Regions from separate parts of the Homo sapiens genome. Here regions 2, 3, 4, 5, 6 and 7 are each linked to region 1. Evidence: promoter capture Hi-C in 16 types of primary human blood cells and fetal thymus (Javierre and others, 2016). All regions are on one chromosome and are shown on one strand. The core of a region is centred on a gene start or on the middle of the fragment in contact, and the rest is flanking DNA. Distances in the headings are between cores, read along the strand shown. Region 1 holds the start of SNHG5 (small nucleolar RNA host gene 5). Region 2 overlaps MAP3K7 (mitogen-activated protein kinase kinase kinase 7). Region 3 overlaps UBE2J1 (ubiquitin conjugating enzyme E2 J1). Region 4 overlaps LOC101929004 (a long non-coding RNA gene). Region 5 overlaps IBTK (inhibitor of Bruton tyrosine kinase). Region 6 holds the start of IBTK (inhibitor of Bruton tyrosine kinase). Region 7 holds the start of PNRC1-DT (PNRC1 divergent transcript).

Region 1 (4,361 bases), core at 1,105-3,604:
GTATAACAGTGCCTGGCCCTATTCTAGGCACTCTTGAACTAATGAAACACAGATCTTAAAATTTTATGCAGAAGTTGTGGGAGGGGGAGAAAGACAATGATTAACAGAGTTTTAAGTACGGTAGGTAAGGGCATCAGAGATCAAGGGTATAAACATAAACACAAGCAATGCTTTCAACTGCCATCTTACACACACTACCTTCATAGTGAAGGTACATTTTCTATCTCCAAACGTTACATGCCTAAGGCTTCTCTCTCATTTTATTTGGTAGTATCAGATAGCATTATGTAACCCATCCTGCCAAATGACCTCTTCCTAGATTTTAGCAAGCCTGAATGTCTTTACCAGATTGTTTTATCAGTAACCTTCCCTCATGACCATACTTAATAAACTGCTATTATTATTCTATTGTGCTCCTTATTTTCTGTATCTCATTCCCCCATTTCTCAACTTAAGCATCCAGGCTTTCAAAATTATAGTTACATCAAAACTAAATATTCCATGATTTGCTTAGTAACAATTACTTCTAATTCCTGTCTCTCCACTCTTACACTGATCCAAAAACCCTTACATTGTACCCTGCACAAACCCGAAACATTCACTCACAGTAATTTGATTACAAGGCTGGTTAGTGGATTTTCCATTTAATGCTCCCCATGTTATTTCAGGACCTATTTAAAAGTAATAACAAAAAGGAACATAATCCAAAATTACATGTTTTATTTTCATGTTTGTAAAACGAAGAGCTTTTTTCTGGATGGTTTTCTTATCAGCTTTTCACACAACAGTCAAGTAAACCTCGTGGCACTAGCCCTAGAAAAGGAAAAACACGAGATTCTTACAAGACTACAAACATTACAACATATGTAAAAGCATTAAAAGTATTAAAAAAAAATATTGTCCTTATAACGGTCCATCTCAGAAGCCAGATCCGTAAAAGTTTTTTTTTTTCAACAGAAGTTCAGGTTCGGGATAAGATCATCACAGATAAGACCAAGGACACAATATTCACTGATCTCTAAGCAAACAGAAAAACTCCACTTACAGAAATCGTTGCAACTTTGGAACTTCCAAGACAATCTGGCCTCTATCAATGGGCAGACAGCGACCCTCACTGTTGGCAGAAAAAAAAAAAACCCAGGATTTTATAACACAACTGTTATAAAATCACGGCAACAAAATTTACTCCACCTCTGAATTACTGGTCTTAATCTCAGAAGCCGAATCCGTACTTATTTTTCTTCAGGTTATCAGCTTCGGGATAGGTTTCATCATTGATTAGACCAATCAGACCTTGTATATGTACACATAATACATTAAACTGCACTTCTGTGACACTGACTACAAACCAAGGTAATGCTAAAAGGCAAGTATTATAGTACAAATACTACAGAACTTTTAAGCCATACAACCTACTTCAAAATGAAGCTGCTAGTCAGTCACATTCGACATTCATTATCTTCACTGGCTACTCGTCCACACTCAGAACGCTGTTCACTGACAAAAAAAATTTGATTTAGTCTAGGTGTGGATTAAATGCTATGCTCAATCATAAAGTACTAAAACAACACATACCTGTTAAAAGTGTCAGGTTTTAACCAAGCGATTTTCCATTAAATATTCTCCCAGATGTTCTGGAAGTTTTTTCGTGTATCTAACAAAAAAAAGTAAATTTCAAACGATGCAACAGTTCCTATTCCTGTAAATCAACAGGTTTACTCCTTTAGTTTGGAAACTAAGCTTAACTAAGCTCTTACCTTTGCATCTTCAGAGCTGCTCCACTGTGCCACTGAAGACAGCGCCATTGTTCCTGCGGGAAATCGGTATTTAAGCATTCTCGCAGAAATGTCACACTCCAAGGCGTTTTTCCACACAAAACCCTTCCCCTTCATTAATCCGAATTGCACACAACGCCGCCTTCGAACAGCTCAGTTTCAATACAGGGTCGAGGCTTCCCATTTTAAAACAACGCCGACGGAAGGCCTTCGCCATTTTAGTAAAGGCCCTTTGCTGTTAAAACTAACCCTCCGCCCCAATTAAGGTGGTTTTTCCGCCGCCGCTCAGGCACATGCCGGAGGCCAGCAAGTTCGGCGCCCGTGGCCGATCAGCGGTTCCTCACGCCAAAACTCGGAGCCTGTGGCCGTCACGACTCAACCTCAGTACATGTGGCAGTCCGGCCGCACGTTTCCCACGTGCAAGCTTTCAACTCTCAGCACTCTAAACTCTTCACTAAGATGTCTTCACAGGATTAAAGCTCTTAACTCGGCCTGCGCCACCATCTTTTGCTCGGATACTAGCCCGCAATACCCACTCACCTACCACCCGCCCAGACGCTCGCGAAGGCCGACGTAAAAGACCGAAGTGCGCAGCCAGTAGCTCCTTATATAGCCTCCCGGAGTCAGAACGAGGCCGTCCCGCCCTCTCGCACCTATTGGACATGGAAGTAGACAGGGGTGTGGTCGCGAATTAGCGGGAGCGCGCGCGGTGGCTCTTCTGAGGCCCGTTCCGCGTTGTGGAGCGCGCCGCAGGCCGGCCGCGCGCCCGGCCATTTCCCGGCGCGCGCCCGCAGGCGCACTGCGAAGCGTCTCTTACGAGTCTGGCGGCCGACTTGGCCCTACGTGGCGCGGGTGTGGCGCCAGAATTCAAACAGCTGCAGTTGGAAACGACGCTTTCGCCTGCCACGAGCCAAGTCCGTCCAGGACAGATTGGGTCCGAGAGTGGACACAAGTTTTGCAGCGCAGGGCGGCCTCAGCTTAGGACCGATTCGAGAAGCTGGGCTGGCTGGCTGGCTGGCGCTGGGCTGTAGTGGGCCCCCAGCGGAGGCCGCCGGAGGAGCGGGCGAGCCCTGGCCGCAGCACTCCGGGAAAGGGCAGTTGGCTGGCAGAAACGCTTGGGTGAAAAAGCGGAAAGCGCCACGTGAGAACAGCCCCGGCGTGCGGCCCTGCAGGGCCTCAGGGCGGGCATCAAGGCCCCATGGGGATCCATTCCTCCTCACGCTTCCTCGTGCCAGGCATCCGGTTACACTAAACGTGACCATACAAGTCTCCCTCAAACAGCGAACGTGAGGTTCAATACTCCATTTCGCAGAGGAGAAAACTGAGGCTTAAAACAGCCAGGTAATTTGCCTAAGGTCACACAGCTGAAATGCTTTGCTAATTTTTAACTTCTTTGTACTCAATTAGTTATATTGAAAACGAGAGAAAGATTAATTTGAGAAGTATCCCTGAATACTTTATCCAGACGACAAACACAAAATTCAAAAGCAGTGCTTTGATTAATTAGCATGTTCGAGTGAATATGTCTGCGTGTGTGTGTGTGCACACGACATTTGAACATTTCAGTATTTGAAAATTCAGGTCGTTCTTCACTTCTATATTTCAAAGCACTACTTATTAAAGTTGTTTATGTGTGCATTTGATTACGGTCCGATTCTGCTAGAGTGTGGGAGCAACACATCTGATTTCGTGCTCTGCTGTTTATTTTTTCTTAGAACAGTGCCTAGCATTAAGTAGGTTGTCGGTAATGGTTAAATGAATGAATGAATGAACAAATACATTCGGTGGCTTTTTAGAAAATTAGAATGAAGATCAAACTTCACATTCAAAGATAGTAGTGAAAAGCACTTTTCTCTAACAGGAACCTATATGATGAAGTATTGACTGGGCCGGGCATTTTGTCGGTTTTTGTATTACTTTGTAATGTCTTACATAAATTTGCATATTGCTCATAGTAAATAGTAAAACAAACAATACAGTACAAAAGGATATAAGAAGCAAAGTAGGCCGGGTGTGGTGGCTTATGTCTGTAATTAGAGCACTTTTGGAGGCTGAGGTGGGAGGATTGAGCCCAAGACCCTGTCTCTATTGTATTAAAAAAATTTTTAAAAAGAGTTAACAAAAAAAGCAAAGTGAAAGTATCTTTCCACATGCCTGGGAATCTTCTCCCTAGTTGTACTCTTCAGCAATACCACTGTTAACAGTTTTTGAGACTTCCTATGCAAATGCAAATATATGTACTTCGTTTTTCACATACAAATGGGATCTATATGTTCTGCAACTTGTTTGTCCGTCTTGTAAATATCATAAACATCTTTCCATATCAGTACATATAGATGACTTTTTTTTTCCAGACAAGGTCTCACTTTGTGACCCAGGCTGGAGTGCAGTGGCTCTATCTCTGTTCACTGCAATCTCGGGATCAAGTGATCCTTCTGCCTCAGCCCACCAACCATGTGGGACTACAAGCACGCGCCATCACGCCCTGTAATTTTTCTGTATTTTTCGTAGAGATAGAGTTTCTGCCATTCTGAAGACCACAAACATCACCTGGTCAAAAGCCATATAAAACAGTGATTCCTTACC
Region 2 (4,361 bases), core at 1,349-3,848, 4.9 Mb after region 1:
TCTGCCTTCAAAGGATGCAAGTGAGGCTTGATGTTGAAAGAATAATGAACTTCGTTTGTTTACTCCTTAAACCAATATTTCTTTAGTGTGTACTACATCCAGCTACTGTTTGGGACATCAGAAATACAGAAAGAAATAAGACAAAGGCTCTGATCTACACAAATGTACTTTCTAGCGTATGTGAAGGGAGGGGAGGAGAAAAGAAAATCGATATACAAACAAAAGATGAGTAAGAAAAAAATCAGACTTTAAAAAAATGCCACATAGAACAACGACAACAACAAAAAATAGGATGCTATGACCAAGAGACTAGTGGCAGCTCCAGGCTGGGCAGTTTGAAAAGGCCATATAAAGAGGTTACGAATCTGACATTTGGATGACACAAGGCACCAATCCCAGCACTTTGGGAGGCTGAGGCAGGCGGATCACGAGGTCAGGAGATTGAGACCATCCTGGCTAACACGGTGAAACCCCATCTCTACTAAAAATACAAAAAATTAACGGGGCGTGGTGGCAGGCACCTGTAATCCCAGCTACTGGGGAGGCTGAGGCAGGAGAATGGCGTGAACCTGAGAGGCCGAGGTTGCAGTGAGCCGAGATCGCGCCACTGAACTCCAGCCTGGGCAACAGAGCTAGACTCTGTCACACACACACACACACACACACACACACACACACACACACACACACACACAGAAGAAACAACTAATATAAAGCTTTGCCCTAAGGGAAAAGAAAAACCTCACTACCTTATTTACTCCAATATGTGAGCCCAATCTAAGGGCTATGCGCTATTTTAGGCACTGATGATACAAGAGTGAACAAACCAAATCAAAATCCTTGTTCTCATTGTTTATATTCTTGTGGAAAAAGACAAATAAAAAGGAAGGGAGTTGTGTGCTAAGAAGAAAAGGAGTATAATTGTGTGTGTATACACACATGTATGCACTCTGCCTCACTCCAATTTTAGACAAGGTAATCACTCAAGGCCTCACTGAGAAAGGTGACATTTTAGTGATGATTTAGAGAAATACTTGGGAGTGTTTGGTGTGGCTGGTGTATAGTGGAGGAAGGGAAGAGTGATTGTAAGGTAAGGCTGGAGGGACAGGCAGAGGTTGGATCCTGAACGGCTCTACCTACCATAAAAAGGAGTTTGAATTTCAGTCTAAGTGCAATGTGAAGGAACTGAAAAAATTCAAGGAAGTAAGGATGGTATGTGACATTAAACAAAATCATTATAGCTCTTAAAGAAAGGATTGTAGGGAAGCTAGGATATGTAAATAGAGACCCATTAGGAAGCCATTACAGCAGTCCAAACAAGCAACAATAGCTACGAGGGCAAGGTCAATGGTAGTGCAGAAACTGGGCAGATCTGGGAAATGTTTTAGAAGTAGAGTCAATAGGGTTTGCTGATGCTCTGCATCCAGGCAGGACAGGTGTAGAGGAAAAGAGCTGAATCAAGGAAAACACCTAGACTGGACAACAGTTTACTGAGGGATAAGAATGATGCAGATTTTTTTTTAATAACTCAGAGTTTGGTTTTAGTCATATGAAGTTTAAGATGCCTACTGGATATCCAAGAGGAGATATCAAGTAAGAAGGTAGAAACGTGAGTGAGAGGATCTATGGAGAAGTCAGACAAAGAGATACAAACTTGGGAGTCATTAGCATGTAGTCAGTTTTTCTAGTCAATCAGTTGGAAGAGGTAACCAAAAATAATATGGAGATAGTGGAGTAGAGGAACTGAGCTTTGAAGCAGTTCAACATTTAGATCACAAGAGAGGAGAAGGAATGGGCAAGGAACAGGAAGGAACAGTCAATATGGTAGCAGGCAAACTAGGAGAGAGTCAGAGAAGCCAAAAGAAAAAGACGTTCCAGAAGGAAAGCAGATATAAGGACAGTGAAAGCATATGCCAGTGGCTCTAAAAGTGTGGTCTCCGGTTCAGCAGTATCAACATCACCTGGATATTTATTAGAAATATAAATTCTCAGGGTGCAACCCAGAATTATAGAGTCTGACGGTAAGGCCAAGCAATCCATGTTTTACCAAGCCCTCCAGGTAGTTTCAATGTTTGAAAATCACTGCATTCAAGGCTAATCCATTAACAACAGATAATAAGGCAAGATATTTCAGTGGAAGCCATCACACAGACCAGAGAGCTCTCCCTTGCTGTTTATATTATTTGTGGAAGCTTTCCACAGCACCCATATGTCATCTTGGGCAGGAGAAAGGGAAAAGGAAAATCCTTATGGGGGAAGACTGAATTTTGAAATAACCGAATTAATCTTGAAATTTCTGAGTACAAAGATACATAAAAGAGGTAAGTATTACATGGAAATTATCCTTGTTGTGGCAAGATTAAATGCTTTTCTCTACTGAGTTGAAAAGAGGAATGACTCATAATTAAACAGTAGTTTATAGAAAAATAGTTACATTTCTTAACTTTTAAAAACAAGTAAGAAATACCGGCAGGAGGACAGGAGTTTGTTTTGTTTTGTTTTGTTTGTTTTTTTGAGACAGGGTCTCACTCTGTTGCCCATGCTGGAGTGCAGTGGCGCGATCTCAGCTCACTGCAGCCTCTGCCTCTCTGGCTGAAGTGATTCTCCTGCCTCAGCCACCCCAAAGTAGCTGGGATTACAGGCTTGTGCCACCACACCCAGCTAATTTTTGTATTTTTAGTAGAGTCGGGGTTTTGCCATCTTGTCCAGGCTGGTCTTGAACTCCTGAGCTCAGGCGATCTGCCTGGGTTGGCCTTCCAAAGTGCTGGGATTACAGGCGTGAACCACTGCACCTGGCCAGAGACAGGAGTTTTGTGCTTTAAACAAAAAAGAGTATAAGCATATATCCATAAGAGTAGAAGATAGAATAATCAGATGATATATACAATGGATAAAGTTGTTTCCTGGTATATTTTGCTCTCCTTCCCCCCATTCTGATATTAGCTCTCTAAGGGAGAAGTCTGAATGGGAATTAGAGGTGGCAGAAGGTGCTACGTAGCATAAAAAAAGCTTCCCAGGGCATTCCAATATACTTCTCATTCCTTTCTTCAAGAAATAACATTTTAAAGAAATGCAATTTTATTATCTGTATAACGATAATGCAACCTTATATTTAACAATATATTACAACTTGTAAAGCTCTTTCTTACAAATATGATGGAGTTTGAGTGTCACCATAAACCCATGAATATATAGGATTTTTTATTCCTACCTTAGAGAGAAGAAAACCAAGGCTCCAAGAACTGAAGTTACCTATTCAAGGATCATGTAATTAGTAAATCAGAGTCAGCTTTCAGGTATGTTTCATGGTGCCAACAAAACAGAGGCCTGCCAGGATTTGGTCCAGTGCCTGGTACAGAGAAAAATGCTACTCAAAGGCAGCAAGTATGATAACTAACAACAATTAACTTTTCAAAAGATTATATTCGAATCAGATTTTAGCTGTTTAGAAGGGGGTTTTAAAAAGCCCTAATCTCCTTTAAGAAAAGAGTGAAGTTGGGTTAATAGAAGGCTTGTGTATAAAGGGCTTATGGCAGTCTCCAAAGATGGCTGTCAACAATCCCTTCTCTGCCTGTCTCTGCTTAAGAGTTCTATTTTAGCCTCCTTCACTGATTCTTCCTTCCTCTGTCCAAACCTTAGATGTTGCTACTTTCCAGGGTTCTGTCCTTGGCCCTTTTGTTTCTGAATCTGTTCTCTAATCTCATGGATTCATACTCTCAAATCTCTCCCATCCAGGTTTTTTGCCCAAGCTCAAGATATATTTAAAACTGCCTTTGAGACTAAGGGGTCCTACAGGCTTATTAAGTTCAATATGTCAAATACTGACTCCATTATCAGTCCCTCACTTGTGTATATTGTAGTTTACTTGACCTTAGTTAAGTAGATTTACAGATATTATCTCATTTTAATTAAGTCAATTCTCACATTTTAGAAAGGTTTTATTTAGAAAGTACTTATTGCAACTTGAGCCATGATCAAATGATAGTATGAAACCTTTCATCTCCCATTGTTTAAAAATACCGACTTCATACATACACACTGAAAACTGAGTATACAAAATAGAAAGTGTTTTGTTTTACCAGTGGGAGACAGACAAACAAAAAATTGTGGACACCACCGCTCCAACAGGAAACGCTGGTTAAGAAAGTTCATTACTGTCTGCACTCCACCTCTCAGGCTATGTAAAACAGCACTCCACTGACTGGGGAAAATCTTACATGTGTATAGATTTTTAAAAAATATATCACATATTTCTAAGAAAATGTTTCAAATGCAAATATCTTGGTAACAAATTTCCTTATTGTATTAATCAAGAACATAAAATCGTGGAGAAGATCAGATGTAGAATAATAGTATGTCTG
Region 3 (4,361 bases), core at 585-3,084, 3.7 Mb after region 1:
GATTCCAACACAGGCAATTTGGCTCTACCTGTTAAAATGTCTTTATTAACAAAAAATGTATTCTCTGGATCTCATGCTCGGTGAACAGGAAACACCTCTATATCCTCCAACTCTTGGGACTTTCCATCCACTATCTTGCATTAAATGAATGGACTGTCCCCTGAATTCACTGACTCTCCAAAGCCCCGATGAAATTCCTTCTTGAAATGATCCTTCAGCTTCACTAAAACCTCCAGTCCACTGACCCCACAACTTTCTTCACCCCTCCTATACTTATATTCATTTTCCTCTTTATCCACACCCTTGGCTCTTAGGAGTCCCTCTTGTACACTCCCTTAATAAAATCCAACTGTGCCTGACCCAACCCAACCATCTTATTTGCTGTCTATACCCAAACAGCTGAGCATCACTGAAAGGAGGAAAAAAAGTCAGAGAGGATGGTGCAGTAATGCCATTACAAGTCATTACCAACAACCTCTACTGGGATACAATGCCACCTAATGTCCCCACATTTCTCTAGTAGGCCTTCCAGCCTACTCTTTCCACCTAGCACTCCAAGATTATTTCCCACCTAGTCTAATTTCTCCTCTCTTTCAGTTAATGGCACCCAGCTTTTTATCTCCCTGATGAATGACTGCTAGCAGGAGCTGCTCAGATGCCTATCACAATCTACAATCCTATCTGTATCTGCACCCTCTGTCTTCTATTGGCTCTCAAAATTCAATCCTTTGATATGCACTCTGGATCCCAACCCCTCTCATTTCAAGCTTTTGGTGCTAAAACATGTCAGGATACTGCAGTGGGATGGCTGAGTTAGGGAAAAGGCTTCTCAAAACTGGGTTTGCAACCACTGATGTAGCTCAAAAGAGAGGTATGCACCAGATGCTGGGAGGACAGGCTGGGCATCTAACTTTAGAGCAAATGGAAGAGAAAAGGAGTCAGGTACTGAATGTGAAAGAAATAACAGTAGAAACTCCCCAGGTAGATATGAATAGGAAGAGGTAATAATAAAAGTAAAATGTGTAGAGGCACAGGTTGGAATGTTATGGGGAGAGAGATTAACTGAGAAGGAACCCCTACATGTATATAACCACAATGGTTTGGTATGTATCAAGACTTTTGCATAAAATTGCATTTGAGGCCAGGCGTGGTGGCTCATGCCTGTAATCCTAGCACTTTGGGAGACCGAGGCGAGTGGATCACCTGAGGTCAAGAGTTCGAGACTAGCCTGGCCAACATGGTGAAACCCTGTCTCTACTAAAAATACAAAAATTAGCCAGGCATGGTGGCGGACGCCTGTAATCCCAGCTACTCGGGAGGCTGAGGCAGGAGAATCGCTTGCACCCAGGAGGTGGAGGTTGCAGTGAGCTGAGGTCGTGCCATTGCACTCCAGCCTGGGCTTCAGAGAGAGACTATCTCAATAAAACAAACAAACAAACAAACAAAACCAGGCACGGTGGCTTAGGCCTGTAATCCCAGCACTTTGGGAGGCCGAGGCAGGTGGATCACCTGAGGTCAGGAGTTTGAAACCAGCCTGACCAGCATAGTGAAACCCCATCTCTACTAAAAATACAAAATTAGCCTGGTGTGATGGCACATGCCTATAATCCCAGCTACTAGGGAGGCTGAGGCAGGAGAATCGCTTAAACCCAGGAAGTGGAGGCTGCAGTGAGCTGAGATCGTGCTGTTGCACTCCAGCCTGGGCAACAAGAGCGAAACTACGTCTAAAAAAAAAAAAAAAAGCCCTCCAGGCCGGAGGGCAGTGGTACGAACACAGCTCACTCACTGAAGCCTCAACCTCCCAAGCTCATGCAGTCCTCCCACCTTGGCCTCCCCAATAGCTGAGACCACAGGCATGCACCACCATGCCTGGCTAATTTTTAAATTTTTTGTAGAGCTGGGGTCCCCCTGTCTTGCCCAGGCTGGTCTCGGGCAATCCTCCTACCTCAGCCTTCCAAAGTGCTGAGATTACAGGCGGGAATCAGCATGCCTGGCCAAAAAAAAGTTGTTACTATCCTACTTCACAATTATTAATATTCTTTTCCATTTCTTACTCTGAACTAAGCCCCTATATGCAGAGACTTTGTTCACTGGATCATCAACTATTTCTTGAGTTCCTACTAGGTACTAGATGCTACAGCTTCATGCGTAAACAAAATATGGCTTTGGTCACTAAAGACTGACGGCTGGGAGGTGCAGTCAATACAAAACAGAATGATAAATGCTATATTAGAAATATGTACATACTGAGACACCCTCTCCCTCCAAGTCTAGAGACTGGGCTTTGGTCAATTCCCTGAACACACTTTACCTCCCCTCCACTCTCAGCCTTTCTATACAGCTTTCCTCAGGGCCCAGGCTGCTCCGGCCCCATCCTCCGCCTCACCGTCTAGTCTGGCTACCCTAGACCTTTAAGTAACTTCTCAGGAATGTCTCTATGACACCTTCCCTGGTTGCCCCCTGCCCCCCACCCCCTACAGTGCTTGGAGATTTCAATCTGGGCAGATCAAAATCTCTGAGGCGTCCTAGGGAGGGGTAGAGACTAGGAATGCTCTCTGAATTACTCTGGTTAGGTTTAGAAACCACTGCCCTAGAGACCAGGTTGAGTCTCCTTGCTCTATGCCATCATAACACTGTATTTTTCCTCTTATGAAGTTCATCTCACTTGTAATTACTTGTTTAATATCTGTTTTTCCTGCTAAGCAATAGTAATGACAGTGTAGCTGTAGCAGTACAGTCTCCTCAGGGCTTAGCACATGGTAAGTACTCAAATATTAGTTGAATTAAATTTTACTATCTTCTCTCAACATAGCTCTCAGAATCCGATTAAAGGCAATGGTTTTTAAACTTACTTAATAAAACAATTAAACTTATTTAATAAAACAAAATCCTTCATTCAAAGAAAGCTTAATGAGAACCCCAACAGGTGAAACAAAAACCACAGAGCCGCTTTGGTTGCAGAGGCCAGTGGAAGGGCCTGCGGACTATCTACTCCCTGTCCTTCCATTTCACTCCTGAAGGGACCCATAGAACAAAGATGGAAAACCCTGCTTTAAAGCCACATAAACATATCATTCCTTTAAGTTAATATTATTAGATAGAAATGCAATTATGGAAGCTGTTATGAAGTTAATTAGTTTGGAGATGCCAAAAAGATTGTTTTTCCTTCATTCCTCGTCAACTGGCTGAACTCAATAATGATTAAGCTGAAGTCAGATTTTATGTCATTCTATACCCTTATCGCATTTTCTCTGCCTCTTCCCTACTCAGTTCAGTTCAACAGGAGAGAAGAAAATAAACACTCAAAACTTGTACCTGGATATTATGAGAGATGTATAAAGGGTCAGAATTGTTATAAGAATGTATCTGTACCAATCCTGTAAAGGAACAATCATTGGTTCAACAGCTAAATAGCTAATTAGTTCATAAGTCACTCAGGCACATACCATGTAAGAGCTAAGGTCATGTAGCCAAAAGGTGAGATTAGTCTCTTGTTTCCATAAGCTATTTTTTTTGCAAAAATAACATATATTATGAATGCTTCAGTGAAAAGAAACAGGGACTCGATTTAGAGCTGCATTAAAATTCTGACTCTGACATTTTGTAGCTCTAAGTCCTTGAACAAGTCACTTGATCTGATGTTTACATCTGTCAAATAAGAGTCAATAATTTCTCCACAAAATTCTCCTTTCCTTTTCACCCCTCCTTCCTGCCCAGTCCCTGAGTCATTAAGGTTGAAAATGGACTGGTATATAAGGCCTTCTCAATGATTCTTCCTAACTCAAAACCATGCCTCAGCAGATTTCGCTGGCCTTATGATATGGCTCCCTGGCTCCTGAGGAGAAATACCACTGTTAGGAAACAGTCATGGTTCACAGTGCTGCCTGGCAACCGGGCTACAGCATAGTCTGCCCCTCCTGATACTCCATCTCTTGCTTCTACATGGCTAGAGAGGAAACTTTTATTCCAGCTCCTCTCCTATCTCTTGGAAAGGTTTTTCCATGGAATCCTTTCACTGTGGTGAGATAAGATGTGCCAGGAAAGGAAGGGGTGGCACCTGGATGCCTGCTCTTGTTCTTCTTTCTTATAGAGGCCACATGGACACTCTGGAGCCATGCTCTAGGTGCTGTGGGCCTAGGCATTAGCATTCTTCACACACCTTGGCTAGCTCACTAGCCTCACATTGGGGTTTGTATACAGCTAAAAATAAAGGGATCTTCTACAGGCCACTGCTTCCCATATATGGATTCCTCTTCAAAAGCAATTATCTTGATATTATCAATTCCCAAAGCATGAGTGAAATGCAGGAGACAGGTATATTAAGGAAGGCATGCTCCCTAACTGCCTCTTCCTGCTCCCAT
Region 4 (4,361 bases), core at 1,020-3,519, 3.5 Mb after region 1:
CCACGTGTCTAATGCACATCCATCAATTTGCCCCTCACTCTCTTATTTCCCCTATTTTGTTTCATGGCTTTACCATTCACTCAGCTGTTAACCCGAGAAACTTCAGTTCTCTTTCCCCCTTTCTCTGGAGCACCTTCTTCACCTAAACAGACATTCAGTGAGGAATTAAGTCTGGCCATTTCTGCCCACGGAATGTTTCTGGAATCCTTGGACTTTGCAAGAGCCTTTTATTTATTTTTAATTTTTTAAATTATTTTTTAAAGACAGAGTCTCACTCTGTCACCCAGGCTGGAGTGCAGTGACACAATCTTGGCTCACTGCAACCTCCACCTCCCAGGTTCAAGTGATTCTCCTGCCTTAGCCTCCTGAGTAGCTGGGATTACAGGCGCCCGCCCCAACACCCAGCTAATTGTTGTGTTTTTAGTAGAGATGAGGTTTCACCATGTTGGGCAGGCTGGTCTCAAACTCCTGACCTCAAGTGATTCGCCCATCTCGGCCTCCCAAAGTGCTGGGATTACAAGCGTGAGCCACCACGCCTGGCCTGCAAAAGCTTTTAACTTATCTCAGACCTAAGTCTGTTTCCAATTCATCTTCCAAATAGTCATCAATTATTCTTGTAGAACAAATTTCTGATCTTGTCTCTCTCCTGCTTAATAACATCCAATAGTTTAGCCATTGTCCAAGTTTTATTTTACTTTGAGACAAAAGTCTCACTCTGTTGCCCAGACTGGAGTGCAGTGGTGCAATCATGCTTACTGTAGCTTTGACCTCCCGGGCTCAAGCGATCCTCAAACCTCAGCCTCCAGAGGAGCTGGGACCACAAATGTGTGCCACCATGCTTGGCTTATTTACTATTTATTTTATTTTATTTTATTTTTTGTAGAGTCAGGGTCTCCCTATATTGTCCTGGCTGGTTTTGAACCCCTGGGCTCAAGCTATCCTCCCACCTCAGCCTCTTAAAGTGCTGGGATTACAGGCATGAGCCACCAAAACCAGCTAAAGTTGTAATTCCTTAGCAATGTGTTGTACACTTCCTCTATGTCCCTTCATCCCCAATCAAATTCACCTTTCTGCTCACCTACTCTCTTAGTTGTCTGCTTTCTGCCATATGACAACCAGCTCTTCCAACACCTTAGCCCAGATTGATTTTACATGTGCTATCTAGTGCGTGTTACGTGTTTGTTTCAGCTAGAGAAGTTTCTGGAGTTAACCAAGTTTGCATGTGTGTCTGGGGATGCTTAGGAGAATGTTGTAAATGACCAGTATACCAAAGTGACACTGTGATTTGCTTCTTCTCCATGCTGGCAGCAGCAGTCCTCAAATCGTGCAGTGGCCAGCATTTTGTTCAGGAGAAAATTGCTGTAGTTCCAAGTATTGTTAAACTGAAACGATGTAGGCTGGATTCACATGCACTTTTGGAAATATCATATATTTTGAAGGTATTATAAGTTTGATTTTTTTGGTGAAATATCTGCACTCTCTCCTTGGATTAAATCATTTTTGCACTTTTTATTCCTTTCCCCCACAATTATTATTATTATTATTATTTTTTGAGACGGAGTCTCGCTCTGTCACCCAGGCTGGAGTGCAGTGACGCGATCTCGGCTCACTGCAAGCTCCACCTCCCGGGTTCACGCCATTCTCCTGCCTCAGCCTCCCGAATAGCTGGGACTACAGGTGCGTGCCACCACGCCCGGCTAATTTTTTGTATTTTTTAGTAGAGACGGGGTTTCACCATGTTAGCCAGGATGGTCTCCATCTCCTGACCTCGTGAACCACCCACCTCGGCCTCCCAGAGTGCTGGGATTACAGGTGTGCGCCACCGCGCCCGGCCCCCCACAATTATTTTTGTTTGTTTGCTTTTCATTCCTGAAATCCTGCACTGAAGCTCTCTGGTACTTCTATTTACTTTTTCTCTACCTTTAATTTTCTTCATTTTATTTTTCATTCCATTCCTTTTTCTGTTTTCAAAAACTTTTTTTTCTCATTTAGCTCATGCTTTGCCATGAGCTCATGCTTTGCCATGTTGGGGATTTTATTTTATTATTTCTATCTTAATTCAAAGAATATAAACCATACAAAAGCCTGCTGCCTTTTCAAAAGGAGTTCTGAATCTGAAGCCCAAAATAATACCCAGTATAGTTGTACAATTTGGCTGTATTTTAGTTGCTTTTCCAGGGTAAAGGAAATTTTTGATCTACTCTTTCCACCACAGCACTCATTTGTCATGAATGTCCTGTTCTCAAAGTTATTGAGTCAGTTGTGATGACAGCTGGTTTTCTAAGCAGCCAGGAAAGAAGAGGAATCTTTATATATTTTTTCCCCTTTTTTCTCATCAGGAGCCAAGAAAGAACATTTATATACTTTAAAACCAGTCCTCAAGAGAGAACTATCTGCACTCCTCTCACCCCCCCAAAAAGGTTATACATCTTAATACTAAATTCTGGATATTGTATTGTTTCCTCAGATCCAGCACCAGCTAAAGGAAGGGAGCTTGTATACATTTTTTTTTGTTTCTAATAAAAACATACAGGTTCCTTACCAGTAGCACATAGATAGGGTAGACAGTTGTATGAATATTATGGGTACAAATGAAAGTAATAGTAAGAATTTATGAGCTGACCAGATTCTAGAAAGCCACATGTCCAACTCCATCAGCTTCCAGAAGCAATTCTTCCTGCCCCCAGCTCCACATAAAGGACTGAGAAGTCTAGGAAGAAGCATAACAATGTCTATTGGTAGTCAGTGTCGTTTAATGGTTAATTGCTGCCATTATTCAGTTAGTTTATTAGATTCAAGAAGAATAATCAGCCAACAAATATTTATTAACACAGAGGAAATGCTGACCATAAGATGTTAGGTGCTGGGGAATGCAGTGGGAAAACAAAAGAGTTTAAAGCCTGGAGGGGAAGATAAACGGTCAGCAAGTTATCACAGTTTATCAAATAAATGAATTCAAGGGTGCAAAATACCATGAGCAAGAAATACAAGGTGTCAACAGTAGAAACTGAATACATACGTGCCTGTGGGCATGTATACCCACCCACCCACCCACATATATACACAAGGAACAGAGCTTGAAATGAATCTGTCTTTCCTCTACCTCAAGTGGCAGCTTTGTTAATTCCTGCAAAGCAATATAAATAGCAGCTTCTATATGAAATTATATGCATCCCTTTTCTGTTGCTGTTTATTGATGCCTGAGGAGGGCAAACATGGGTTCTACTGATGTCAGCAGGCAGAGTTGCTGCAGTAAAATTTATTCAAAATGAGTGTTGTGGGTTCTGATTTGAATAGATAAACTGGAGATGCATTTATGAATTTGCATGTCTGTTTACACAAGCAATAGACCATGGTGGCTGAAAGTCAGCCACTGGAGGCTGACTCTGGCTTCTGTTCTACAGTGGGTCCACTACTTACTAGCTCTATAATCTTGGACATACATCTGTAAAATGAAGATAAATAACCACATTAACCACCTCATAGTTTGCTGTGAGGATTAAATGAGTTAACAAATGCTAAGCCCTTGGAACAGTGCCTAGCACAGAGTAATTGCTCTACAAATGTCACCTATTGCTTTTGCTCTCCAATCCCCCCTTCTCCCCTTTTTTTAGCCAACTAACTGAGCAGGATAATATTGGATCTCGTGGATACAGGGTAATTTTCTTCAGCAGAATACCAGAGAAAGATTTATTATCGCCAAGGGGGCCCAGGAATTTAATAACACATTTGTTGTTTTTAGAGCTGAGTTTTTGTTGGAGTGTTAACTGAGAAAGAAAGTTTTCAGACGTGAATGGAATGTGACATTTACTCTGGTATTATTAGCATATAGAGTAGTAAAAACAGTAGTTGATAGTCTTCGTGCATGTTAGCTTCCCTTAGACTTATTTTCAAAATATTCATTTGGTTTATCACATTAATATATTGTGTCCCATTTAACATAGTTGAGACAAATTAAGGAAAGATGATAGGGTATGAAGAGCTGATAGAAGCTTTTAATATGTGGAAAACCTCAGAATATAAACATCTACAGTGTTATTAATAGGCATACCGTCAACAACAGTTTTTCAGACTTTGTGGTTCACTCTGGAGAAAAACAAGAGCATGACATCTTGAATTTCTTCACTGGGTAATTAAAAAACTCAGTTATAATGTAACACCAGCTGCACATATCATGTTAGTGGAGTTCAGCATCAATTAAAATTATAAACGAAACCTGTCATATGTTCCCTTTCAAAGCTGTTCAAGACAACTGTCCAAATCAACAAAACAGTATGAATATTTACTACCATAAATCTTTTAACTCTTTGGTTTTAACTCATTTCAAATTTTTAGTTCTACTCTATTCAAATAAATTATTA
Region 5 (4,361 bases), core at 1,136-3,635, 3.4 Mb before region 1:
AATATTTCTAACTTAGGATATAAAAAGATGAGTAAGAAATAAAGAAACCCTAAAATCATTTCCAGAAAGTCAAGGTCCTTTGGAAAACAAAAAAATTATAAGCTAGACAAGCTCTAAATATTTACACATACCCTAGACCGCTCGGAATTTTGTAAGCACAATATAGCTATCAAATAAAAAAAGTAATGCAAAGATTATTATCTCATTTAGCTGTACCACAAATACCTAAAAAGTTTAAAAATAAAATCCAAATTTGTATTTTAAATTTACAAGTTGTCAGTGAAATTCATTTTATGAAATAAGAAAGAATACATTTCATTCAATTTTATATTAAATATTAGAATGCCATCCTACAACTGCTGACTTCTACTACTAAACAACAGTTGCAATACTAGACAGTTTTAAGTTATCCAACTTTAAAAACCCCAGACTTTTTTTTTTTTTTTGAGACGGAGTCTCGCTCTGTCACCCAGGCTGGAGTGCAGTGGCGCCATCTCGGTTCACTGCAAGCTCTGCCTCCCGGGTTCACGCTATTCTCCTGCCTCAGCCTCCCGAGTAGCTGGGACTACAGGTGCCCGCCACCACGCCTGGCTAATTTTTTATATTTTTGGTAGAGATGGGGTTTCACTGTGTTAGCCAGGATGGTCTCGATCTCCTGACCTCGTGATCTGCCCGCCTCAGCCTCCCAAAGTGCTGGGATTACAGGTATGAGCCACTGCGCCCAGCCTAAAACCCCTGAATTTTTAAATAAGAACTGAGCATGGATTTTCGCTTTTAATTATCTGGAATATATAATACTAACATTAATAATCTCTGTCTCATGGTAGTTAATTAATTTGGTACTGTATAATATAGAATCAGCCCCTTTTCAATAACAAATGGGGCTCTCTATATAACTGGTACTCAATTAATATTCCCATACTTGCTTTCTCTTCCCTGACTGAAATTTATACTGATTTCTTTCCTTCAAACCTACCCACTGTGCTTGCTTCACCCTCATTCTGTGGTAAATAAAATCCCTTAGATCCTTAATACCTTCACAAAACACGCCCACTGCCTTGCCTTACCTGAAATGTGGCTTTCTCTTTGAGTACACTAGTTCACTCACAACCCTGGCAAATGGAATATGCTCAAATATTCCAAACTATATATTTCTTTGGATCAGACATTTCAATCACCCTCTGATTTCCTAATGCCATCATGATTCCCTCACTCTTGTCTTTAAAATCCCTGCTCCGTAACAGCTCATGAAATAAAGGTATATCATGTACTACCTCAAAAAAGGAAAAACAGGTGTCTTTCTTGTGCCACAATTCCAATCAATCATTAGTGGCTGCTAATGGTTGGATTATCATTTTAAGGAGGAGTCTGAGGACCCACTCAAGCTCAGCATGAGAAAAAAAAAACTGACTAGCATGTCTGCAAAAAGCTCTAGACTAGGTGAGCAGCTTGTACACTTGCTGCCCCTGCTCTGATTTCTCACCATCTTGCTCACCCCTCTCACATTCACTAAAGACTTGGACACCAAGCTTGATTCTCGCCCATCACAAGTCCTTTCATTATCCTAAGTTCCCTCCACATCTACAGAGAAGACCCACAAGAATATTAGCTTTCATGACACCATTCTACTCCCTACTTCTCTAGCCACTTTTCATTCCTATATGGGTTTTTATTCCTGTTCTCTCAAAATTTAATATTCTCTAGAGTTTAAGGATTCTATTGCTTTTTTTGTTCAATTGCTGGTTGTGATGCATTAGGTTGTGACTTTTAGTTTAAAAAATAGTGTTCTATGGAGCCCTAAATATAGTGGTCATATTATTTATCATGCAAACATTTTTGAGAATGAAAGGGGATACTAACAATTACACTAGGAAAATAATCATAAACCAGAACTGTCCTGGGCAAACTAGGGATATGTTGTCAAAGTAGCTCTAAAAACTGTCTAAGAATTCAATCTCAGGATATAAACTAAGTGTTGTTATGTATGTCATATATAAATAATAGGTGAAAGTTGGAAAGAGCCAGTACTATAGTGATAAAAACACTCCAAGCTCATATTCTGGATCAAAGAAGTTTTATGAACTTCAAAATGCAGAAAGAATATAACTAGGAAGTTGTAGGAAATGTAAGTTGAAATGGTAATTTAGGAAGACTGAAAAAGTTCTTACATTCCAAGCCACAGAGTTTGGACTTTATCCAAAGGTGACTTAGTAGATAAACACATAATTAGCTCTTTTTTAAGACAAATAATTCTGGAGAAGAATATTATTGGGGTTGAAATGAATGGAGCCAAAAAGTCAAATTAGGACACTGTTGTCACTGTCCAAAAAAAGAGCTTGAAAAGGACATGGCACCTAGGTTCATGAGACAGAAAAGAACTAAATAGACATGCTCTGAGGTATCATCTTCAGGATTTAGAATTTGAGATTTATAACATTAAAAATTGAATAGGGTAGTTTAGGAGTGGCAAAAATAACACTTCAGACATTCTAAATTTAAATATCTTGAAAGAATACCCACAGTACAACTGAAATAAAGTTCAAGAGAAAGACTGGGGCTAGAGATACACATACATACACACATATACACAATGTAATACAGAAAGATTTGTCAACAGTAGCTGTATCTGGGGAAGTAGAAGATATCATGCATTGTAAGGATATAAGACCACAGACCAAATCTTTACAATTGTATCTATTAAAATTTTACAATTACTTACATTTAAGAACTCAGGTTCACAAAAAGCATCACTCGTGCCTAAGCATCTAAGGGCAAATTTTTGAACCCCACACTTCCAAAACATTGCTTATCTGTCTCCATAAGTGATGAAATTTTAGTTCTATCTACTATCCAAACTGAGAACTGAGACTTAGACATTTAATTATTTATTGCTTGTCAGTGTGAATACAAATAATTAAATAGAATGACTGGCAGTTTACCAGACCCTCAGTTAAAAAACTCTATAGCCTTTCCAGACTGCTGTCATCCAACTTCACATAAGATTAAACATATTCTCTTCATGATAAATAGCTTGGAACCTAAAAACATTATTTTGTTACAAAAAATTGCAAGAAGTGTGTTGTTTTCTAAATTGAAATTATTTTATTTTTTAATGCCACCAAAAAAAAAAGAACTGTTGTTCACTTATCAAAAATAACACTGAGCTTCAACAACAAATTCACTTGAGAAACAGCTTACAGAATTGTAATGTTTGTTAAATAGAAAAGCTAGAAAATCAAGAGAAGCTTTACCCTCTTAAATTAAACTACTATCTGTATAACATTTTCTAATTTCTAACACTAATTGCACAAATATCTTATATTTTAGGGTATTTTACAAAGTCTAAATATAATTAAGGCTAACAATATCTAAAATAAAATTAGCAAAGTTCTATTGATTGATTTCCTCATTAAAATGTTACTGTACCTGAAACAAAGTTATGTAATCCACATGAAAAGCTGAACAATCAAATACAAAAGTTCTTTCTCATCTCTAAAAGTATATAGATTGTACTTCAAAAATACCTGCTTGATATAAATCCCACTCCTGGAGAACAGATCCACCAACTCTGGATGATGTTTGCTATTCTGGCTTCCATGACCCAGGGTAAAATTTGTATTATCGCCCCAAGTATAAACATCTGTAGGATCTAAAATAAAAATTAGTTTTTATACTTTTTTATATTTTAAAACACATATAAGAACTAATTTAACTACAATATTTAGAAAGATGCCAACGCTCTTCTCTGAATGAATATATTAATATGATATTAGGTAATTCTAGAAATAGAAAATCCAAATCATAGTACAGGCCTGTCTCAATGCAAGCAATCAAACATTTGTTCCTTGCTTCTTTTTTTTTTGTTGTTGTTTTTTTTTAATAATTGAGACAAGGTCTCATTATGTTGCCCAGACTGGTCTTCACCTCACGGGCTCAAGTGATCCTCCCACCTCGGCCCCCCAAAGTGCTAGGATTACAGGCATAAGCCACTCTGCCCAGGCTGTTTCTTGTTTCTTTAGCAGCTAAAGTTTAACTGCCAAATGAGTAAAACACCACCGGCCATATCTACTTAGTTTCCATGAAAATAATATATAGAACTGTATCAAATGTAAGATATTATTAATCCACACATACAAAGGTTCTAAATGTTGCAAATGTGATATTACTCTTTGTACAGGAACACTAACTTTCAATACTTTGTTTTTCATAGACACAAAATCACACTAGTGATTAGGGTAAAGCCCATTAAACTGGAATACAAATCACAGCTAAGTTCATGATATAAATCTTCATTTTTATTTTAGAAGATGAATAAAGTCTTAGAATGGAATTATCACTGTTAACCTGCAATGCAGTATCCA
Region 6 (4,361 bases), core at 1,862-4,361, 3.4 Mb before region 1:
CCAAATCTGTCTCTTGCTCACATATTTGCCCTAAACTCCAGGCCCATATTTCCAATGCCTATTGTACTTCTTATCTATGCATTCAAAAACTGCTTAAAGAAGGGGAAGAAAGCAAAGGAAATAAGCATTTAAAGACCTAATACATACGGAATGCTTTACATCAGACCAGTCAAGTAAACCACCTAAATCATACCACCAAGAAAAGAGGGAGTCAGACTTCAAATACAGATCTGTTTAATGATGAGGTCCGTGCTATTTCTGCTACGTTACACTGTCTTCTTCAGCGCATCCATAGTAGGTCACAAGGCATTGGGAATACAAAAATAATTAGGACCTAAATATTTTAGATAAAATAAAATACAGGTTCATGGATAATACTCAGGTGGATGCATAGCTAGTTTAACATATGTACTAACTGAACAAAACTTATGATCTATTACACAGTTCCTATTATCAAAGGGTCACAGTTTGGTAGAAGAGAGTAATTTTATTTAGGCAAGTAACTAAAACATATCATAATTATAAACCTATGGTCAAGATAAAACAAGTGACACATAGGAACGGGGAGTGCAGAAGAGGGGTCCAGGTAAGACTTTCTACAGGAGATAAACTATGTATAAACTAAGACTTAAAAGATGAGTACTGGCCAGGCACAGTGGCTCATGCCTGTAGTCCCAACACTTTGTTAGGCTGAGGCAGGCAAATCACTTGAGCCCAGGACTTTGAAATCAGCCTGGGCAACATGGTGAAAGCCATCGCTACAAAAAAAAATACAAAAATTAGGCGTAGTGGCACATCCCTGTAGTCCCAACTACTCTGGAGGCTGAGGTGGGAGGATCACTTAAAACTGGTCAGTCAAGGCTGCAGAGAGCCAAGATCATGCAACTGCACTCCAGCCTGAGCGACTGAGCGAGACTCCTTCTAAAAAAAAAAAGAGTACCATATGTGTTGGCCTGATAAATTCTGGGTGAGAGCACATTTGAAGCAGAAGGGATAGTAAATATAAAAGAACTAGAATCATCTTGGTCCATTCCAAAATTTCTAAATAATTCAGAAGACAGAAAGAAGTGAGGCCTAACATACACACAAGGATAGACAGGATTTTGAACAGCCTTATGTGCCTTTTCTTAGAGATTTAAAAAAAAAAGGGCAGGCAATCCAAAGACATACTTAGGATCTTGAATTGACAAGATGTGGTGGTAATTCCCAGGTTTCTGGCTTGGAGAACAGATAGGGAAACTAGAAAGAAGAGTAAGGGGTCAATACTTTGGAAGTGAGTAAAGCAAAACAAAATTAAACAACGGAAAAAACACACAAAAATTATAGGTGAAATTTTGTTTTATACATTATACACAGTGCTCTACATAAATATAATCCTTATTATTGCCCCTGTAAATATGATCACTTTCATTTTCTGATGAGGAGATTCATGTGAAAGTTTAAAAAGCCTACCTAAAATAATACCGACAGAAAAGTGCTCTTGATCCCACCTATTCTATGCTACCAAACTGCTCTCCCAAAAGGCAGTTAGAAAAATTTCAATGCAAGTAGTATAGTGTAGTAGAAAAAAGTACCATGGAATTCAATTCAAAATAATTGAATTCAAAAGCAGTTTGGTAGGGCAGCTGGAGACTCAAGCGATTCTGCCTCAGCCTCCCGAGTAGCTGGGATTACAGGCACACATCACCATGCCTGGCTGATTTTTTTGTATTTTTGGTAGAGACGGGGTTTCACCAAGTTGGCCTCGAACTCCTGACCTCAAGTGATCCGCCCACCTTGGCCTCCCAGACTGCTGGGATTACAGGCATCTTTTTTTTTTTTTTTTTTTTTGAGATGGTGCCACACTCAGTCGCCCAGGATGGAGTGCAGCGGCGCGATCTCGGCTCACTGCAACCTCCACCTCCCGGGTTCAAGCAATTCTCAGCCTCCCCAGTAGCTGGGATTACAGGCGTGAGCCACCGCGCCCGGCCTAAAAAATTTCTTGAAGTAAACTCTGGTTTGACTAAAGCTTCTGCAAATATTTGCAAATGTAATTATTTTTAGAAACCAGTTTTGTCCTCATCTACCTTGCCTCAATTTCTAAAACAAATAAAAGTTAAGGAATTCAAAATACAAAAAGAGAAATGATCAAGAGGGGGCTGGCAAGCCTGTGAATTTACACCACTTTATGGGCACTGAAACACTACTACTCATAAAAGTCATATCCTTTCAGTATTTCTGATAAATTTCAAATGGCCTACTTCGAGGCATAAGTTAAAAGGTGCTACATGAATCTCTGGCTAACACAGTCAAGTTTTATGAACTACGTTGGAAAACAGGAGTCAAGGACGGCCTATGTTACCTAATTCGCAGCTGAACTAAAACTCTTTGAGCCAGACAGCTCTGCCTGTTACAAAAACAAAGGGCCTGTCTTCTCTGTCTCTCTCAACCCTCCACCCTCCAAAAAGAATCAGTTCCTTTTTACATAGCAATCAATGTCCACTTATCAGATTTCACGACCTGCTTCCCCAGAGTCAGTATCCCCAGGGTGGACTCAAACTTGTGACTCCAGGAAGGGGATAAGGAACATGAGCGCCCACAGGAATGGCTTCAAATCCAAGACTCGAAGGAAAGTGACACTACATAACTATCACAACTAGGAATGCAATGTCGCTGGAGGGCGTGTCCAGCAGGACGGGAGCGTAGCGCATCGCCGGGACAGGCCATTCATTAGCTGAGGGGGGCGGTAGGGACCCTGGCCACTCGGCCCTCTCCGCGCCGCCTCGCGCGAAGCCCGGCAGCCTCGGGGCCACAGAGTCCCCTCCCCACGGTCCCCCCGCGCCGCCGTCCGCAGCCACCCGCACCCTCCAGAAGGCGAATACTCTCCCCCTGCCCCCGGGCTGAAGGGAAGCCGCACCGCACGGTCGGGCAGCGCCAAGCCCTCCCTCACCAGTCGCTAGATGAAACTGCGCCGGTGGATTCCGCAGGGTCCACATAGAGCCACAAAGGGACTCATCCTCAGTGAAGGCAATAAGAGAAACCGAACGGCGCCAGAGGGGCCAGTCCCCAGACCCGGGTCAGTTCGGCAGGCGGCTGCAATACAGCCGCTACTACAGGAATCGGGAACGGGGATGTAGAGGAAGGGCCCGAGCGGGCGGTTCCCAGTAATAAGGCGGGCGCTGGTTGGCTGGGGCTCCTGTATGTCTCTTGATGATTGGCTGGTGCCTGCCCAGAAGGTTTCGCGTGGCAGCACCTCTGCCATGGCCTTTTCCCTGGCGCCCCAAAGGAACTTGACCTCGCCGGCCTTGGGGCCGCTGACTCAGGCCAGGGGCGGGGAAAAGAAAAAGGCCGCAGCGGGGAACTCTAGGCCAACAACGGTGATGGGAGTGTCCCTTTCAGGCCAGCCATCTCGTAGTTAGAAACGTCTCTCTAGGTAGCTGGAGACTCGCGGGGGAGGCTAAACCCGAGTGGAGAAGGAGACCTGGCAGGATGCCTTGGACACCCGGTCGCTACGCAGCAGAAGCCAAGTGCATAGGCGTCCTGCACAGAAGAGTTTCCTCCCATGGCCTTAGCAGTGGGGTTACTGCAAAGCCAAAGGTGTAGTCTCCGTAAACCCAGCCTCACCCCTCTCTGGATCTCCATACACCCGGATTATCTGGCAGTCACTCCCTTGGTCAGAAGGCGTCACTGCCCTCTTAGATCACCACCGTAGGACTAGCTGCCGACCCGGGTCACGCCACTCACTGCCTGACACCAGGCTTACACTAGGCTTTTTCCACTTGAACTCTGAATCTAAAGGCCATTTAGAAAGTGGTCAAGTGAAAAATGCTAGGAGGGACAGTAGCCAATAATCAATACTAGGTTACTGAATGGGAAACACACTGCTGCTGAATGCCTAATACGGTAAGCACTCAGTAAATGATTGTTCAAGGAGGTGTAGTGTGACTCAAAACAAACGACACTAAGAATCATGAGTTGGCTGTACAGCTCTGCCACGTTGAGTTTTACAAGCCACTGAGTCGACCTCATCTAATCTCTAAAAGAAAGGAGTTGCGCATGTCTTAATGCCCACTGAGCTCTGCTTGCTCTCTTTTGAAGCCTTTTTTGTGGGAGGGTAGGTTACTAGCCCAAAGCCACACAGCTGCTTAGCGAAAGAGAAAGGGAGACTAGGACCCAGCCCTCCTACTGCCCTTCCCAGCACATAATTGTTTCTTTGCTCTTTATTCTTAATGTCCTTCTACAAAACAAAAACCAGTTTGTAATGTCAAAATTGAGTGGTTTTGAAAATAAGCTTAAGTTGGCCGGGCGCGGTGGCTCACGCCTGTAATCCCAGCAATGTGGGAGGCCGAGGCGGGCGGATCACGAGGTCAGGAGATCGAGAC
Region 7 (4,361 bases), core at 580-3,079, 3.4 Mb after region 1:
CAAGTGATTCTTCTGCCTCAGCCTCCCAAGTAGCTGGGACTACAGGCATGCACCACCACAACTGGCTAATTTTTGTATTTTTAGTAGAGACAGGGTTTCATCATGTTGGCCAGGCTGGTCTCCAACTCCTGACCTCAAGTGATCCATCCACCTTGCCATCCGTGAGCCACTGCACCCAGCCTGATCTTTTTCCTTTATATCATATAGCACAGCTAACACTATATGTTTAAACCTGTAACGCTTAGGTTTAAACATTAAAATTAGACTTTACTAAAGACTAAGGGTTTACAAAGACTACCCACACAGAGTAACATTAAATCCAATCATCTGGCTTATAAAACCTCGACCTCTCTCTTCTAAGTGCCCCATTTCAGCTCCCATTCTGTTTCTTAGTGGTGGGCACCATTTTAGCAATCTCAGCACCCATCACCCAGGTGGTCACAGCTGCAAGGTTACTTTTCTTACAGTACAGAACCCAGGGCAAACATGAAGCCTACACTTAAGGCCTCAAAATGATAAGTTATACACATAATTACTCCAACAATCACCCAAGAAATACACATAGACAATAATAGGTATCTTTGACCAAGGGCCCCACAGAGCTGGCTACCAATGACCAGCTCCCTGAAGGGTAAATTATTCTCTAGGACAGTATGATATTATCCCCAGATAAAGTCAAGCCTAAAATCATGGGATATAGTGAAAAGAACACTGGACTAGGCATCAGGAGTTCGAGTTATTCCTACCTCATTTTGTGAACCCCCCCCCCCAAGCAAGTTACTATATATTTAAATTTATTTACACCATACGTTAAATAGGACCTCTCTATATCAACCTTAAAGTGCTAGAGTAAGAATAAAATGAGATGACAGATGGAAAGTGCTTTGAAAAAGTAGATTCTTTTACAGCTCTGGATGTCCATGATTCCCATCCATCCAATGAACATGAGCACTTACTATGCATTACATGTTGCAGAAACAAAAATGAGTAAAATTCAGCAATTGGAATGAAATGGAGTTTTTTTGGTTTCTTTTTTGTTTTTTGAGATGGAGTATTGCTCTGTTGCCCAGGCTGGAGTGCAGTGGCATGATCTCGGCTCACTGCAACCTCTACCTCCCAGGTTTAAACGATCCTCCTGCCTCAGCCCCCCTAGTAGCTGGGATTACAGGCACATTAGCCTGTATGCCCAGCTAATTTTTATATTTTTAGTAGAGACAGGGTTTCGCCATGTTGGCCAGGCTGGTCTCAAACTCCTGACCTTAGGTAATCCAGCCGCCTCGGCCTCCCAAAGTGCTAGGATTACAGGTGTGAGCCACCACGCCTGGCCTGAAATGTAGTTTTAAAAGCTTATAAGGTTGACTGGGTTTGGTGGCTCACTCCTGTAATCCCATCACTTTGGGAGGCTGAGACAGGCAGATGGCTTGAGCTCAGGAGTTTGAGACCGGCCTGGGCAACATGGTGAAACCCTGTCTCCACTAAAAACACAAAAAATTAGCCAGGAGTGGTGGTGTGTGCCTGTGGTCCCAGCTACTCAGGGGCGTGGGGGGCTGGGGTTGGAGGATCTCTTGAGCCTGGGAGGCGGCTGTTGCTGTAATCCGAGATCATGCCATTGCACTCCAATCTGAGTGTCAGAAAGAAACCCCGTCTAAAAAAAAAAAAAAGTTTATAAAGTGATTGGGAAGCATTTTTCTGGATATGCAATCTGTCCAACTTTGCCATCAATCATAAAACGTTTCATTGCTTACTAATTGCTTACTACTCCAAAGCTGAAAACTATTGTAGAGGCGGTGAGGATACAGAAGTGTAAGATTACTGTGGTCTTCTAATAATGTAGAATCTAGTGTGGCAGGGCTGGACGCGGTGGCTCACGCCTGTAATCCCAGCACTTTGGAAGGCCGAGGCAGGCGGATCACGAGGTCAGGAGATCAAGACCATCCTGGCCAACAAGGTGAAACCCCGTCTCTACTAAAAAATACAGAAATTAGCTGGGCGTGGCGGGTGCCTGTAATCCCAGCTACTAGGGAGGCTGAGGCAGGAGAATCTCTTGAACCAGGGAGACGGAGGTTGCAGTAAGCCGAGATGGCGCCACTGCACTGCAGCCTGGCCACAGAGTGACACGCCGTCTCAAAAAAAAAAAAAAAAAAATTAAAACTTTTGTCTTGCAGTACCTGGACTGGAGATCAAATTCTGATGTTAACTTACCGTTTGATCTTTGACAAGTCCTTTAGCCTTTCTAAGCCTGTTTCCCCAGCTGTAAAATGGGAATAAAATACAGTACTGTCCCTCCAAAAAGAAGCTGAGGCAAAATCAGGCCAAGCTTGAGGACTGCAACCCAGGACCATAGATTCAAGCTGCCCTGAATATACACTCGGATTAGCAAGTTACAAGTAGGTTTTTAAAGGAAAAGAGGCAGCTCCTAAATTGTTTACCAATTTACATTAAAATATCGTGGGCTCTTGACTAGCTATACATTGTTCTTTGTATCTTAAATTTCAGAAACTTAAAGATAATGCGTAGGCAGCTAATCAGGAACAAAATGCCTTTAAACAATTGCCCCAGGCATTAGTAGTGAAAGGAAGAGAATGACAGCCTGCCTACTTCGCAGAGCTGAGGTCTGATCTATTTTTCTTAGTACCTATTCGTAAGGGTTGTTGTGAGGTTAAAGTGAGACAATCTATGTAAAGAACAGTTCCTGGAACATAAATGCTTGATAAATTATGGCCACAATTCTTTTTTGTGGTTGAGCAGTGCGGGGAGATCGCGAAAAATTTCTATTTACGCGCAGCTAACAAAATACTCTATGTTGCAGAGCTGTTTCACTTTCTCCCTTTGAGACGCAAGCCGGCTTGCCGCCTCCTCAAGTAACCAGGCACAATGTTCTGATCCCAAAGTCTCACAATCCTTCAAGTATGAAATCAGTAAAAACTCCAACTTCCATTTATGGATTTACGGAGAACTTTTTATACATCGAGGGGCTAATTCAATCAGTAAGTCACTTTGATTTTTACTCTGATCACCGAGACTAATAAGCAGCGATGCCGAACCAAGTAAATGAAAGAATCGTGAGCCATACTTCAGTAGATAAAATTTAAATGTAGACTGATTTTCTTCACGATTGCTAGGGAAGAAATCCTTACAGCGTACTTAGAAATCTTTGTTTTAAAATGATAACGCTGTTATGTTGGGCTGAAAATAAAACGGATACTTCCCCAAGGTCAGCAGCGGAGGAGGCAACCGTGGCCTTGCCAAAGTCATCCCCTCTTCCCAGCCCCCGTTCTTCCTGCCGCCCTCCCCCTGCCCCCTCCCTTCCCCACCCCCATCAACAAACTCCGCCGGGACATTTCAGTACCACCACTCCCTAGCCCGGCGAAGCGCAGGGGCGTGCTGGGGAGGAGTAAAGAGGGTGGGGCGGAAACCCAATTTCATTGTTCGCGGGACCGATTCTTCCCAAAAGAGCTCGCTGGCAGCGCCTGCGCAGTGCGCCCTCTTTGTGCCAGGCTGCAGCAAGCTGGTTGTTTGTGTGTGTCTACCCGAAGCTGCGGAGGCGGAGCGAGGGGGCGTGGCCTGCCTTGTCGCACTCTAATTGGGCTTTCGCAGGAAAGTGGGCGGGCGCGGGGCGGAGCTTCCGATAACAACACTCGGAGCTGGGGCTGTGGCTATTTGTTGCTGCGCCGCCACCGCCCGAGTCATGTTCCGCGATCTTCTCAGGCTCTCCTAGCAGCATCCATCGCCGCCACCCTATCTTCACTGGCTTCATTCACCTTCTCCTTCTCTCTTCGTTGCTGAGCGACAAGCTTCCTAGCGCTATGACTGTCGTCTCCGTCCCGCAGCGGGAGCCGCTCGTCCTGGGTGGCCGCCTTGCGCCGCTTGGCTTTTCCTCCCGAGGTTACTTTGGGGCCCTCCCGATGGTGACCACGGCTCCGCCTCCTTTACCCCGGATCCCGGACCCCCGGGCACTGCCCCCGACCCTCTTCCTCCCTCATTTCCTAGGGGGAGATGGCCCGTGTCTGACCCCCCAGCCTCGCGCTCCAGCAGCTCTGCCCAACCGCAGCCTCGCCGTGGCGGGAGGCACTCCTCGGGCAGCGCCGAAGAAGCGGCGAAAGAAGAAGGTGCGGGCCAGCCCCGCAGGGCAGCTGCCCAGCCGCTTCCACCAGTACCAGCAGCACCGGCCGAGTCTGGAGGGCGGCCGGAGCCCCGCGACCGGCCCGAGCGGAGCGCAGGAGGTCCCGGGCCCGGCCGCCGCCTTGGCCCCGAGTCCTGCAGCCGCAGCCGGCACGGAGGGAGCCAGCCCCGACCTTGCCCCGCTGCGGCCCGCGGCTCCCGGCCAAACCCCCCTCAGGAAAGAGGTGAGGCCGCCAGGG

Evidence for each region. Contacts are between HindIII fragments. The CHiCAGO score rates a contact against its expected background, and 5 or more counts as called.
Region 2: a fragment that was not itself captured here is called in contact with the fragment with the promoter of SNHG5 in region 1 in 1 of 17 cell types (neutrophils); the score reaches 5.6 in neutrophils.
Region 3: a contact is called between a fragment that was not itself captured here and the fragment with the promoter of SNHG5 in region 1, in 2 of 17 cell types (total B cells and activated CD4 T cells). The highest score is 6.3, in total B cells.
Region 4: a contact is called between a fragment that was not itself captured here and the fragment with the promoter of SNHG5 in region 1, in 1 of 17 cell types (neutrophils). The highest score is 9.9, in neutrophils.
Region 5: a contact is called between a fragment that was not itself captured here and the fragment with the promoter of SNHG5 in region 1, in 1 of 17 cell types (activated CD4 T cells). The highest score is 7.5, in activated CD4 T cells.
Region 6: the fragment with the promoter of IBTK here is called in contact with the fragment with the promoter of SNHG5 in region 1 in 8 of 17 cell types (naive CD8 T cells, activated CD4 T cells, total CD4 T cells and 5 more); the score reaches 13.8 in naive CD8 T cells.
Region 7: a contact is called between a fragment that was not itself captured here and the fragment with the promoter of SNHG5 in region 1, in 2 of 17 cell types (activated CD4 T cells and non-activated CD4 T cells). The highest score is 5.1, in activated CD4 T cells.

The regions. Positions count from the first base shown.
Region 1 is chr6:85,676,379-85,680,739 of GRCh38, forward strand. SNHG5 (small nucleolar RNA host gene 5) reads right to left here and starts at 2,355. Exons shown (of 6, transcript NR_003038.2): 1 at 2,316-2,355; 2 at 1,758-1,810; 3 at 1,576-1,654; 4 at 1,417-1,497; 5 at 1,046-1,114; 6 at 629-813. It overlaps SNORD50B (small nucleolar RNA, C/D box 50B), which reads right to left and starts at 1,281; the gene lies at 1,211-1,281. SNORD50A (small nucleolar RNA, C/D box 50A) reads right to left here and starts at 990; the gene lies at 916-990. RefSeq lists enhancers at 1,936-1,995, 2,166-2,325. The HindIII fragment of the contact is 13,479 bases long and covers 2,198-4,361 here.
Region 2 is chr6:90,575,777-90,580,137 of GRCh38, forward strand. The region is part of intron 1 of MAP3K7 (mitogen-activated protein kinase kinase kinase 7); the gene reads right to left. Among named protein-coding and RNA genes, the nearest start is that of MAP3K7, 9.1 kb to the right of the region's middle. The HindIII fragment of the contact is 817 bases long and covers 2,191-3,007 here.
Region 3 is chr6:89,344,181-89,348,541 of GRCh38, forward strand. All of the region lies in intron 1 of UBE2J1 (ubiquitin conjugating enzyme E2 J1), which reads right to left. Among named protein-coding and RNA genes, the nearest start is that of UBE2J1, 6.4 kb to the right of the region's middle. The HindIII fragment of the contact is 2,139 bases long and covers 766-2,904 here.
Region 4 is chr6:89,141,124-89,145,484 of GRCh38, forward strand. LOC101929004 (a long non-coding RNA gene) reads right to left here. Exons shown (of 4, transcript XR_942766.4): 2 at 2,624-2,710. It also overlaps a transcript of PM20D2 not described here. Among named protein-coding and RNA genes, the nearest start is that of PM20D2, 2.8 kb to the right of the region's middle. The HindIII fragment of the contact is 3,442 bases long and covers 549-3,990 here.
Region 5 is chr6:82,228,194-82,232,554 of GRCh38, forward strand. It overlaps IBTK (inhibitor of Bruton tyrosine kinase), which reads right to left. Exons shown (of 29, transcript NM_015525.4): 4 at 3,525-3,649. Among named protein-coding and RNA genes, the nearest start is that of IBTK, 17 kb to the right of the region's middle. The HindIII fragment of the contact is 1,716 bases long and covers 1,528-3,243 here.
Region 6 is chr6:82,244,633-82,248,993 of GRCh38, forward strand. It overlaps IBTK (inhibitor of Bruton tyrosine kinase), which reads right to left and starts at 3,112. Exons shown (of 29, transcript NM_015525.4): 1 at 2,930-3,112. RefSeq lists a silencer at 2,745-2,914. The HindIII fragment of the contact is 2,262 bases long and covers 2,007-4,268 here.
Region 7 is chr6:89,077,089-89,081,449 of GRCh38, forward strand. PNRC1-DT (PNRC1 divergent transcript) reads right to left here and starts at 3,492. Exons shown (of 1, transcript NR_187250.1): 1 at 3,074-3,492. It overlaps PNRC1 (proline rich nuclear receptor coactivator 1), which reads left to right and starts at 3,663. Exons shown (of 2, transcript NM_006813.3): 1 at 3,663-4,346. The coding sequence starts at 3,807. RefSeq lists an enhancer at 2,768-2,857 and silencers at 3,288-3,497, 3,548-3,697, 4,088-4,361. The HindIII fragment of the contact is 971 bases long and covers 1,345-2,315 here.